Regions from separate parts of the Homo sapiens genome. Here region 1 is linked to region 2. The links are contacts of gene promoters, found by promoter capture Hi-C in blood cells and fetal thymus (Javierre and others, 2016). All regions are on one chromosome and are shown on one strand. Each heading gives the region's core, a stretch centred on a gene start or on the middle of the fragment in contact. The rest is flanking DNA. Distances are from core to core; before and after follow the strand shown. Region 1 overlaps ZNF195 (zinc finger protein 195). Region 2 holds the start of RHOG (ras homolog family member G).

The links. Contacts are between HindIII fragments. The CHiCAGO score rates a contact against its expected background, and 5 or more counts as called.
Region 1: a contact is called between a fragment that was not itself captured here and the fragment with the promoter of RHOG in region 2, in 1 of 17 cell types (fetal thymus). The highest score is 5.4, in fetal thymus.

Annotation. Positions count from the first base shown.
Region 1 is chr11:3,370,307-3,377,400 of GRCh38, forward strand. It overlaps ZNF195 (zinc finger protein 195), which reads right to left. Exons shown (of 6, transcript NM_001130520.3): 2 at 1,271-1,397; 3 at 669-764. Among named protein-coding and RNA genes, the nearest start is that of ZNF195, 5.3 kb to the right of the region's middle. The HindIII fragment of the contact is 2,267 bases long and covers 3,876-6,142 here.
Region 2 is chr11:3,838,879-3,845,363 of GRCh38, forward strand. It overlaps RHOG (ras homolog family member G), which reads right to left and starts at 2,081. Exons shown (of 2, transcript NM_001665.4): 1 at 2,016-2,081. RefSeq lists an enhancer at 222-421 and silencers at 1,822-2,211, 2,262-2,311, 2,662-2,931, 2,972-3,021. The HindIII fragment of the contact is 3,094 bases long and covers 1-3,017 here.

The DNA.
Region 1 (7,094 bases), core at 3,759-6,258, 470 kb before region 2:
AATGATAATATTATAACTATTACAGTTGGGAGTTAGGGAATATAAAGTTTAAATGACCAACCTCAGCTCATACTAAAAAAAATAAAATAAAATGTTGAAGTAAAATAACATTAGATTATCTCATATTTGGGCAGATGCCTAGTGTTCGGAGAAAACTGCTGAGTATACATTTCTGTAGACTCCCATTTGAAACCTCTGTAGGATACGAAATCATAAAGCAGAAAGCATACAACATCTGTTTACGGGACTTCTGGGATTTCTGAACCAATCACCATCACCACGCCTCTCGCACACTTCAGACATGATGCAAAGGAAATCAAAAAACATTTAACAGAGTTCCTCAAAAACAGGCAGGTACAGGCATGTTCCCAAAAGCAGTGGCGGAGCACGCCATGAGACCACACAGGCCCTTACTCGTCAGGAGGAGGACTCTGATTTTTACTGTAACCTTTATAAAGGAAGATCACTAAACAGGAAGCAGAGTCTATACAAAATTTGAGAGAATGAGACAGAAGACGCTCCTAGGGTACAGCAAGAGAAAGACACCCAGGCTCTCAGAAACCATCTCCACTAGGGCAGAGCTTCTCAAACCACATTTTAAGGTCTGGCTTCCTCCTCGACCTCTGGACCTCTCACCTGGGTTACCTGCTTCGTTCATTCCCACCCACCTGGATGTCCGTCTGCTGCCTCCTGTCTCTTCACATTCCAGGGCTCTTTTCGTTGCTCCAGGCAGGTGATCAGGCCTGGCTTACAGACAGTGAGACCTGTTTTATTAGAAAAAAGTGACATTACTCTTGCTGAAATTCTCCAATTATCAACCTTGTACTGTGCTTAGTAGAGTGAACATTATATAAGATTCTAGAAAATTAATCCCAAAATTATGCTTCCTGACATCACCTTTAGAATATTCAGTAAGTATTTTAAATCTGTGGGTTCTTAGTTTCACCACTCAGTACTGCTGACATAAAAAATTGGTGGTGGAAATTTGACTTTAAGTTGTGGGCAACAATATTTCATGCCACTGAATTTCTGGAATTGTCACTAGAGTGAAAGATACAGATCAGCTGAAAAAAAAGGAAGGTTTATGTCAAGATGAACCACATTTTGAAGATTTTTTTTTTTTTTACATCAACTATTCCCCATGTTTTTCTTAAAAGCAGGGATCTGAAACTCATTCATGCAACGCAGAAACTCCCAAAAAACATTCCGCAGAGGAACGAAAGGAACTCTTTAGGGCATAGGAGGAACTACGTATTGAAGTTATCCTCACCAACGGAGAACAAGTTTCTGTAGTTCTCCAACATCACATCCCTGTACAAATTCTGCTGAGCGAGGTCCAGGCATTTCCACTCCTCCAGGGAGAATTCTATGGCCACATCCCTGAACGTCAACAGAGTCTGAAGAAGAAACAACAACAATAACAAATACTTGATTCGAGGTGAAATGAGCGAGTGAAGAGAACTGGTTCTGACTTACACAAGTGACTGAAATTATACAATAAGGTAATTCTTAGCAGAAGAATACTCTCTAACTCTGAGGAAAGAGAATTGCCTGAGAGCCACATAAGCAGTGTATATACAATACTTTTCTGGTTGATAACAAGTATAACATTAAGGGCATCAACAAAGGCATGTCCATTTTTGAGTGCTACATTTACGTCACATGAATAAGCTGTGTATATTTCGCAGGCAGAAAAGTCATGGTGAGTTAGAAGCTGCCTCTCCAATTTTCATGTGTCCAATAAACTAGTGTGCAGATTTTGCTTCAGGAAATCGGAGGTCAAGGCTGAGTTTCCGAATTTCTAACGCGCTCACCAGTGATGCCAGTCCTTTGGGCCCAAGGACAATATTTTGTCAAAAATCCTGTAAGTGGCAAGCTTGGGTTTATCCCAGTTTTTCTAAACCATAAAGAGAGATGAGATTCTTCATCTTCTAAAGCAAGGCATATGCAAAAAGAATCTAAGAAGCAAAACCTTTCAGATTAAATGTGATTATTTATGCACATTAATTAGTAAATCTCCTCAAGGTACTTAAAAGAGAAAAAAATAAACTCCACAATGGAAAATCTGTCAGGGAGCTCTTTAAACAACTGAATAAAACTAATATCAACTGTAATAGGACAGATTTTTATCACGTGCCAATGCACAGAGAAGGACATATTACTGGTGTGATATTGGCCAAAAGGTCAATTATAATCTGAATCAAATCATACCGAAACCTTAGTGTTATGCAAAGTTCAAGAGACAAATAAATATCTCCCAGGTTCTGACAAATATCTCCCAGGTTCTGACAAATATTTCCCAGGTCCTGACAAATATCTCCCAGGTTCTGACAAATAAATATCTCCCAGGTTCTGACAAATAAATATCTCCTATGTTCTGACAAATATCTCCCAGGTTCTGACAAATATCTCCCAGGTTCTGTAATCTGTTTTCTTTTGTCTTGAGACTGAGTCTCACTCTGTAGCCCAGGCTGGAGTGCAGTGGCGCGATCTCGGCTCACTGCTACCTCTGCCTCCCTGGTTCAGGCAATTCTCGTCCCTCAGCCTCCGGAGTAGATGGAACTACCCACATGTGCCACCACGCTTGGATAATTTTTGTATTTTTTTAGTAGAGATGGGGTTTCACCATGTTGGTCAGGCTGGTCTCGAACTCCTGGCCCCAAGCGATCTGCCCACCTAGGCCTCCCAAAGTGTTGGGATTATAGGCATGAGCCACCATGCCCAGCAGTAATCTCTAATAGTGTATTAAAAGAGTCTTTCTTTAGCATTCTAAAAAGCAAGTGTCTTTTCATTTTTCTCTTTTCCAGAATGCTTTGAGTTATTCTGAGAGATAAATGTCATCTGGTTTAAATGTTTATTTTCTTAGTCCTGTTCTGCATGCAGCTTATGGAGCATCCAGATGAAACCTAAAGAGTGCACATTTCCCTTCTTTGCTGATATCCAAAAACCCACCCCATCCTCAAGAGGAATCCTGGGTATCCACAAGTTCAGTGCCACGAAGTGAACTTTTTAATACTGCAGGTCATAAAGTCATGGTAAGAATTCTTCATGGCATATAAGAAGTCAAGGTGAAGATAACAGAGAGACGGCTTTGGTATATAGAAAACAAATATTTTCAGAGACCCTTCATTATTATAAGAAAAAAAAGTAGTTGAAACAAACTTACTATGGAGAAACACCACAAGTAGAGAAGTAAAGGTTTCCAAATTCTAAACACATGACATTTCAGGAGCAAAAGTGGACACAACCCCTGACCTGAGATGCATTTACCTGAGCACCAGCCATTTCTTTCTCTTTCTCCTGCTTCTCTGGGATTTCCTCTTAGGAAAGATTCTCTGGACAAATCACACCTGCATCGTGAGAATATGCCTTTAAAGGTGTTAGCACAACCCCTTCACCTGCTACCACCACAACCATCAACAGAAAGACCAAGAAATACAGAAAAAGTCCACGCTTTTCTGTTCTTTATAAAAGAGATTCAGGAACAGTAAACTTCTACATGGAGATCAAAATGTGACTTTCTCTCTTCCTGCTCTCAGGTTCCCTCTCCTGCTAAACAACAGCAATTCTGCTTCAGCAATTGGAGTATAAGCTGCACTGAGCTGGCCTCTGAAACCTAGGCAAAGAAGGCCCTGTGACCTCCCTTTGGAACCAAGGCTGAGCTCAACTCGTACAAATGCATCTGAAACCCCCCATCACTGATTCTGGCCACACCTTAGAATCCCATGATGCATGTGACTTAAACAGCACTGGTGCTTCCACCCAAACCAATAGGCAGAATCTGTGAGGGCAAAGGTGAGGGCCTTTTTTTGAGTTGTCCATGTGATTTAATTAGAAGCCAGGCTGAGAACCATTTAGCTAAGCCTTGCTTCTCAAGCTTCAATGTGCATATGAATCTTTTGGTAATTTTGGCCCCACTCTAAGTCATGTGATTCTGAAGATTTCAAAGGGGTTCATGGGTTGGATTTTTTAACAGTTCTGCCATTAATGGTGATGCTGCTCCCCCAAGACTTGTGATCATTAACACTCAGCTAAAGAAAGCAGCCCCAGCACAGTCCCTTACACCCAACCCTCTGACCACAACATAAGTTCTTCTGGTGCAAATGGAGACAGCCAATCTCTATTCTGAAAGATTACATTATTTCCTGGCTCTTTAAAGTTTTCCAGGGCTGGAGAAGGAAGCAATGTCTGAGTCTGTCTGCATTTGGAAAACAATGTGTACACACGTATGAATGCAGTGTTTATTAAGCAGGCACGGGGTGCTCGGATGTATGTGACAGCACTGTGCTGGGCACCTCACGTCATGTGAGTTAATCCTCACCACACCCTGGGTGATGGAACCAAGTGTCCTGCAACTCTCAAGATATAGATGAAGGGACCAGGCTTTGTGGTTCCTCTTCTATTTTCCTATCATTAACGTTTTAAAAGTGTAGTGATAAAAGCTCCAGATAGACCAATGGAAGGGATACAGAGGGGATGAAGTGTAGTGCAAAGGCACTTTCCATTGTTGTGTTTATCTTCACTTTCTTGTGGCTTGTGAAGCAACTATTAGACCCACAGGACTGAGAAAGAGCTTGCTGGATACGATGTCTCTAACAGCGCTGGTGTTAGTAAAAAAGAAAAATTAAGGCTCCAAAATAGAGAGTCCTTTGATCCCATTTATCTGCTTTGGGGTTTCCGAAAATTCTGTGTATCAGTTCCGGAGAGGCAGCAGGAGTCAAACTCTGATTTAACTCTGTAGTTAAACTCCAAACTGATTTAACTCTGTAGCTAAACCCAAAACTCTGATTTAATTCTGTAGTTAACTCTGTCGGAGGAGAGTCCAGGGTGAAGCCAGACCTGGATGAGACTCAGAGAAGGAGAGTCTGGGCATGTCTGGGCAGGGAGAGGGCCCTACGCAGGATTCTGCTCTCTATGCTACTAGAGTATTTACAATTCTGTTTTTCCTAAAACTGCCCCCCACCCCAAAATTTAAATCCCAGGGTTTGTATAATTTTAATCTATTTTGGCCACTTCCTTGTCTATTTTATAACATAAAATAACAAGCAATTTAACCGAAACCTTTAGGATTTTCTAGGACAGATATGGTAGAAGCTAAATATTTATTTTTAGCCGGGCAAAAGCAACAGAAATAATACCACCACCACCTTGTCTGTCTGAATATCCCTTCAATATGACATCAGAACTCACAACAACCACATCAGGAAAATGGCCCAAATGAAGCAGAAGTCCCTTTGACCACTCCCTTCTTCATGCTGACCCCAAGACGCTGAATTCAATGATTTATCCAGTTACTGGAAATGGAAAAGTTTCTGGCTTGCGGGGACCATGGCTGCCTTCTCTGTTTTCCTAATGGCTACACAGGATGGAATCAATTAGTTTATCAGTTTGAATCTCCAGATCTCATTTTTGTTTTTTACTGAAGTACCAGAAAAACTGGAGTAATTCCCATGTGGATACCAATGAGGTTTCTTCTCTGAGGGGAGGAACAAACCCTGGGTGACTCATTTCTCTTATTCTACAACAGAAGCACAGATAGACCGTTTTGTCAGCCTGAGCCCCGTCTGCACAGTGCACTCCTGAATGTCCAAAAGACTCCAGGTGCTGGTGAGAGAGTTCCTGGTGACCCTGCACAGATGCCCTCTATGGCCATGAGATCCATGATAGTTGCTACCTTCTCCCTGTTGCAATCCTCCTTTAGAGTTCAATAACTTCCTATCTAAAGCTAAATTTATTTTATTTGACGAAGTCTAGAAACAGCCCCAGGATAATAACGATTCCATACCCAGGAAGTCCTCCCCAGCTTCCTTCCATCCCAACTCTAACTGCATCTGCCTGTGGGTCCCCAGTGCTCCCGGGCTCTGCAGCTTCTCTCTGTAGAAAGGCTCCTTCCATGGTTGCTGTGAGCAGTCTGGCGCACCCGCAGGGGAGGCTCCTTGGGAAGCACTAGCTAGGCCAGGGGTGTCCGATCTTGGCTTCCCTGGGCCACACATAAAATACACTAACACTAACGATAGCTGATAACTGAAAAAAAAAAAAAATCACAAAAAAGTCTCATAATGTTTTAATAAAGTTTACGAATTTGTGTTGGACCACATTCAAAGCCCAGGCCAGCATGTGGCCCAGGCCTGTGGGTTGGACAAGCTTGAGCCAGGCCTTCGATTGCTTTCTTTTGCAGACTCAGTATTAGCCTTAGCTTGGAATGACTGTTCTTGGGCTTCAACTTCCCAATCAGGGTTATCCACTTAGGTTTAAATAAGAAAATACCCAGTGTTGGAAACATCCAACAAAATCACTGAAACAGTTTACAGAAGAAAAGGAAACTGTAAGCACTTACACTTTCACCTCCACAGAAAAAGCAAAATTATTTATTGCTTTCAGACAATGAACTTGTCATTTAACTATTTCCATAACAAATCATATAGTAAACAATCACATGTGAACACTTTTAGAAGTGCTAAGTTCCATCTCCTACAACTTAGCATTAAGCTCAGACATCTAGAGAACAGGATATAAAACAGAGATACTCATGACAACAAATTCATCCTGCAAAAAGAGCTCATGTTCTGATGAATCTATGCAATTTACCAAGTAATCTACCATAATTTTTTTGTAGAAAATGTAAACATTCTCCACAGCCATCCAAGAAGCATTTTATGTTCCCTGGTAGCATTCCCAAAGCTAAGCCCTGGGATTCTGTTGGAAATCATCTTCCACAAAAGAACAGACCTAAGTAACTTTCTACCCTTAATCACTCTGGAGAAGAAAAAGGTATGTATGACTAGATATTTAACTTTTTTCCTGAAATTGACCTATTTCATGTCCTTTGTAAGTATTTTCTTACCTTTCAAGCTCTACTGATAAAATGTAAATTTACAATTAAAAATCCAACATTGCAGTAAGTGAATAAATTATTTCAAGGAGACACAGAGAGTGGCAGTGCCGACTGGAACACAGACACAGCTAATGACTTGTGTCAAGTCAGGCTATTCTATTCCTTGGGAGATTCTCCCACCTCCATCCTGTTCACCGAAGTGCTCACCGGCCACCCCCGATGATACACTGCACTGTGCCCCGCTGAGTGTCCCAGGTGA
Region 2 (6,485 bases), core at 831-3,330:
TCCTGAGAAGGAATAGGGTCCTAGGTGAGATGGGGAGTATTAAGGATGCCTGAAGGCAGAGGGGTCAGTAGAACTCCAGAGGGCTTCCTGGTCACTAAGGCCCTGATGCAGATCAGGGCATGCGGGTACCCAGCCTAGGCAGGCCCCAGAAGGTAGCAGGAAAGGAGCAGACACTTTTGCCTCCGCCGCTTCTTAAGTCCGAAGTTAGACCAGCTGCAGTCTTTCCTCCAGAATCCTGCATTTGCCTCCTCCCTTTATTTCCATCACACCCAAGCTGGTCCCATTCTTTCCACCAGGTGATGCTGGAACTAGTAGGTAATGGAGTCAGGGACCTTCAGGCTGTCTTCCGGCTTCTAGGCCTGGCCTCTTGGTCAAGCACCACGGGTTGGGGTGATTTTGATTTCCCACGGCCTCTCTTACAAGTCTTATTCCTGTGTCACCCTACCCTGACTGCTACAAACGGCTTCCTCCTGCCTAACCACAACCTCACTCACTGCAGGTTCCCTTCATTCTGCTGGCTTCCCTTGCTCTGGGCCCTCTCAAGGCTGAGGGCAGTTATTTTGTCTGTAAGAGATAAAGATGTAGTCACACAGACACGCGCGCGCGAACACACACACACACACACACACACACACACACACACACAGGCTTTCCATCTCTTTAATCCATCTCTAAGAGATGAAGATGTAGATACACAGACACGCGCGTGCGAACACACACGCAAACACACACACACACACACACACACACAGGCTTTCCAGCTCTTTAATCCGTCTCTATCACTGGGAGGCTGCAGACTGCCTCTCCAAGCTAGGGAGGTTTGAAAAGACTCTAGAACTCACTAAGTCTTCAACAACTGATTCCAAAGCTGGAGATAAGTGGGTGGGAGGGAAGGATACAGAGAGGGTGACAGGCTGAGGGTTCAAAAGGAATGAGGGGTGATGGAAGAAACCAGGAGGTGCATGTGTGTGGGTGCCAGAGCTGGGAAGGGAAGGGATGGGGCAGGTTGCAGAGGACCAAGACGAACATGGGGCAGGGTAGGTGAAGACAGGTCAAGGCCTAGGTATGACCGTATGTTTGGAGGAAAAGAGACTGGAAGGGATGAGAAGAGAGTGATGGCGGATTTGTGGGTAGAAACTAAAGAAGGTGTGGAGGGAGACGACAGGAGCATGTGTATAATTCAGGGACTAAGAATGAAGAGGAACACTAGGAGATGGTTCTCAATTGTCCCCAAAAGACACAACAAAAACTTGTCAGGGACTATCAGTACCTCTGAATGAGAGTCCTTCCACTTCCAGTTACAGGGCAAGACCAAGTTACTCCCAAAAGAGCAAGGCCAGGCTCTGGTCAGCTAGGAACAGCGTCTGCTCACTAAATACCTACTGCTTGGCTCCAGGTAAGGTCGGGACTCAGGAAAACAGACATACAGACAACGACTGGGGTCGGCGGGGCTCCCCCACCCAACCCGGGTCCTCCTGAGTGCAGAGGGCCTTGGGGCTGCAGACCGAGTGTGGGTCTGTATTAGCATCCATCTGACAGGGAGAGAGCTTTCGGAGGCCCCAGACACCGCCCCTCTCACCCCAAGTGTCACAACTGCCAGAGCAGAGGGAGCGCCTTTTCCAGCCCAGAAGCCCTCTCCCCTCACGCACTTCTCAACACCCCCCCCACCAACTTCTGAGGACACCCCACCTGCGTCCGATCTCCCAGCTCTGAGCTCTTCCACTTCAGAGACACTTATCTTGGAGCCCGGGACCCTCCGACCTCAGGGGTCCCTCTCGGCTCCCTAGAGGCGGTACAGCCGCCGGGAAGCCACCCTCGCCGAGCCTCCGCCGGCTCGCAGTGGCCCCGTTCCCGCCCCGCCCGGCCGGCCGCGCCCGCCCTACTTGGACTGAACCGAGAAGCTCCCGCCCGCGGCCTCCGCCAGCAAACTCATGAGCCGGCGCCCGCGCCGAGTCCTGGGCCGGCCGGGCTCTCCTCCCCCGGACCCCTACCCGCCAGCCCCGGCCGGGCCTCACCTGGTGCCCTCCCCGAGGCGGGGGAGCTGGGGGCGGCGGCAGCGGCTCCGGGCTCGAGAAGGAAGTGAGAGCGGGAGGCCGGAGGAAGTGGGGGGGGCGGGCCGGCGAGGCGGGGCGGGCCGGGGCGGGGCCCGACCAGGAAGTCCGAGGGCCGATCTCCCCCTCTCCAGCCCCGGCCCGCCCCCAGCCTCGCCCCCGGCCCAGTCCCGGGCTTGCCACGTTCCCCTCCCAGTCCGCTGCCCCTGCGGTCAGTAAGTCAGGCCTCCCAAGGTCAAGTCTCTCCGCCTCCTCCTGGCCACCCTACCCCTGGAGGCCCTACCCTGGGCGCTAGGCGTTCGTCCTCTTCCCCCCATCCCGCCCCCACCAGCCTCCGCGGGAAGATGCTGAGAAAGGCGCCCCTGGGCCTGGTCCCTTCAGTCAACCCCAGGGATAGAGTGGTGGCCGAGGCTGGGGCAGTCCCCGCCCCTGCCCTGAGCCCCGGGGGAGTGCGAGGTGGTGGTGATTCAGCAGTGGGAAGGCCCCAGACCCCTGGGGAGGGTGGGGAGACTCGGGGGGAAGAGGAGCTGGCGTCAGCACCCAAGGGAAAGACAAGATCAGCAGAGGCGCAGGCGGAGCCGCGGGCCCCAAAAACAGGATGTCGAGTCGTCATTCAGCACCGTGCAGCCCTGCGAGGCCTGGCTCTGGGGAGGGGGCGGGGCGGACGGAGGACTTGGGGCTTCCCTCGCCCCCTCGCCCCCTGTTCTGCTGGGGCGCGCAGCTGCTTGGGGCTGAAGAGCCGCACCCAGGCCTGAGGTCCAGCTTGGGCCCCGGCGACCCGCGGGTGGGCGGGCTCATGGGCGCCCTCTGGTGCTTCGCTCCCTGGCTTTGCGCTCGGAGCTTTGACTTGAGAATCCATATCCTTCGTTCAGCACAAAGTTTCTGAGCGCCTACCACGTGGAGAGAGCTAAGTGCTAGGTGCTGTGAAGAAACACAGCGTTTAAGACAGGATCCCTGTCTTCCAGAAGCTTTTCAAATAAACGGATTGATTCCAGGAATAAATAGCTTAACCTTTCTGAGCCTCAAATCTGTCTTTGGTAAAATAGAATAATTATATTTCACCCCGTAGTTTTGAAGATAACATGAGAATGGGTGTAAAAGACCTGTTGTCAATGCGTATCTCAAACACTAAACAAATATCTTTTAAAAATATCATACCCTAAGAGTCTGGCGCGGTGGCGTCTGCCTGTAATTACAGAGATGGTGAAACCTTGTCTCTATAAACACAAACACACACATATTTTTTGACAGTCTCACGATGTCACCCAGGCTGGGGTGCAGTGGCACGATCTCGGCTCACTGCAATCTCTGCCTCCCAGGTTCATGCAGTTATCCTGCCTCAGTCTCTCGAGTAGCTGGGGTTACAGGTGCATGTCACCACACCCGGCTAATTTTCGTATTTCTAGTAGGGACGGGGTTTCACCCTGTTGGCCACGCTGGTCTCGAACTACTGATCTCAGTTGATCCACCTGCCTTGGCCTCCCAAAGTGCTGAGATTACAGGCGTCAGCCACCACACCCAGCCTACTTATATTTTTAAAAAAATAAATAGGAACCACGTAAGTAATTTAAAACTGTCTATTAATGACATTTCAAAAAAAGTAAAAAGAAACGAAATGAATTTTAACTATATTTGACTTAGCCATAGCCAAAGTATTATCTTTTTTTTTTTTTTTTTTTTTTTTTTGGAGATGGAGTCTCGCTCTGTCACCAGGCTGGACTGCAGTGGCGCGGTCTCTGCTCACTGCAACCTCCGCCTCCTGGGTTCAAATGATTCTCCTGCCTCAGTCTCCCAAGTAGCTGGGATTACAGGCACGTGCCACCATGCCTGGCTTATATTTGTATTTTTAATGGAGATAGGATTTCACCATGTTGGCCAGGCTGGTCTTGAACTCCTCACCTCGTGATCTGCCCGCCTCAACCTCCCAAAGTGCTGGGATTACAGGCATGAGCCACTGCGCCCGGCCTCAAAATATTATCTTTTAGCATGGTAATCAACATAAAAATTACTGGTTATAAAAATTAACTGGATATTTTGCATTCTTTTCTTGTACCAAGTCTTTGAAATGCGGTGTGTATTTTATACTTACAATTTGTCTCAATTTGGCTGGAAACATTTCAAGTGGTCAATAGCATGTGTAGCTGGTGGCTACTGTATCATCCTCAAAAACAGAGGCTTTATCAGATTCAGGCTGGTGAATGACTGTGTGGATGAAGTCTTTCTCAAAGATCCTTCTCTAGAAGCCTCCCCTGACCTGCCAGGCAGTGTTTGGGTCTCTTGTCTCCTCTTCGGTCTGGTCCCTGTAGCCCTTCAGACAAACTCCTCTTTGTGGAGGACATGAGAGCAGGAGGCACAAGGGGAAATTCTCATTCCCATCCATACACCATTGGGACCACTTGACATTGGGGTGCTTGGTATTTCATGAATAAAGAAAGGATTGTGAGCCCCAGAAATGACAGGGTTCAGAGGAACACCATACGCTAAAGCAGCTTCTATGACGCCATTAAAGATTATGTCCCAGCACAAAAGTTTTTTCTGGTTTGTTTGTTGTTTTTTTTTAGATGGGACTCTCACTATGTTGCCTAGGCTGTCCTGGAACTCCTGGGCTCGAGTCATCCTCCCACCTCAGCCTTTCAAGTAGCTAGGACTACAGGCACACACCACCACATCCAGCTCCAGAAGAAATGTTTCTGATATGTGTTCCTAGAATTCCCTTCCCAGGACTTAAGAACAGGAAAAACAGTGGAGCTATGGACTCTCTCCCCTTCAACCAGAGAAGGTTTGCTTTTTATCTGATTTATTTACTAGTATTCTGCATAGAGAGTTTAATTTTGTTTTTAAGTTTCCTGCAAAAAATATTTGAAAATCAATTTAAGGACATAGTGATAAGAGTAGGGAGCACATTAGGTGCTGCAGATTGAAAGACTGGATTGGCAGCCTGGGATCAGATTGCATTTCCTGAGCCTGTAAGTGTCTTGGGCTTGCCTAGCCCTGGTTTAGGAGGGAGAACCTGATCCAGCCTCAAAGATCTCATGGTCTGATGAAGTATAGGACTTTGCATATGAAGCTATCAGAAGAGGAGGAAAAAGTCCAAGGCTGGGCTTTAGAAAACCTTCAAGTCTGGCCTGGCACAATGGCTCACGCCTGTAATCTTAGCACTTTGGGAGGCTGAGGCAGGCGGATCATGGGGTCAGAAGATCGAGACTATCCTGGCCAACATGGTGAAACCCCGTCTCTACTAAAAATACAAAAATTAGCTGGGTGTGATGGTGCATGGCTGTAACCCCAGCTACTCGGGAGGCTGAGGCAGGAGAATCACTTGAACCTAGGAGGCGGAGGTTGCAGTGAGCCGAAATCGCGCCACTGCACTTCAGCTTGGCGACGGAGCGAGACTCCATCTCAAAAAACAAAAAACAAAAAAAAAAAAACCACAAACAAACTTGAAGTCTGTCTTGGCTCAGACAGACAGATTGAGATTTTAGGCTAGGCCCCACCCTTCTCTGTCTCAAACTCTTCCACTGGAAAACAGAGGTTGAACTAGATGATACCTTTGAGCTCTCATCTTCTATGATACACTCTTCAGAATAATAATTAAGGTTTATGCATATAGCATGTTGCTCATAGTTCTTTAATACCATTTAGGTCATCATGCTTTGTGCTCTAGTAAATTGCATCTGTGCCTAATATCTGTCTCCCCCACTGACTATAAGTCCTTTGAGGTTGCGTCTGATTCATTTCTGTGTCCACCCACTGGGCCTGACAGAGGCAGGCCTGAGCACACATTTGCCTTCACTAAACATCCATAATGTTAAATTGCTTTAATAAAGTACTAATATGTGTAGAACAATCAGACTCCAGGTAACTTGGAAACACTTTTGTGGCACAGGTATGGGAAGGGCCAGAGGAAAGGGAAGCAGGTGGACAGGTGGAGCTGTCCGTAAAGGCTTCTTGAAGGAGGAGAAATGCTGACTTGAAGAGGGTAGGAAGAGGGCACAATCCCAAATGGGCTGTTTCTTTTTTCTACTCTCTCACTAGCTTTCCCTGAATAGGTGAGTTCTTGGTAGGTGGTGTGCATGTATGCTTACAAGCAGCTGAGAGACAAGGACATTGAACCTGGACATTTAGAAGTGAGATAATATGAAAGCACTTGGTGGGGTAGAATAGAGATCACAGACAGGTTTTGGAGACAGATTAGGATGGTTGTAACACAGTATGGCCTTTGATTAGTCATATGAGATCTCCCATATTCATAAATATTCAATGTATATTTATTGAAAATCTTCTTGGTGCCAGACATAGTGTTACATGCCAATCATGAAGTAGAGAAAACTGCCCTGATATAACTGGTAAGGGAGATAGACCTTAAACAGGTAATCATACAAAAGTAGAGTGCTGCTGGGCATGGTGGTGTTTGTCTCCAGTTCTAGTTCCTCA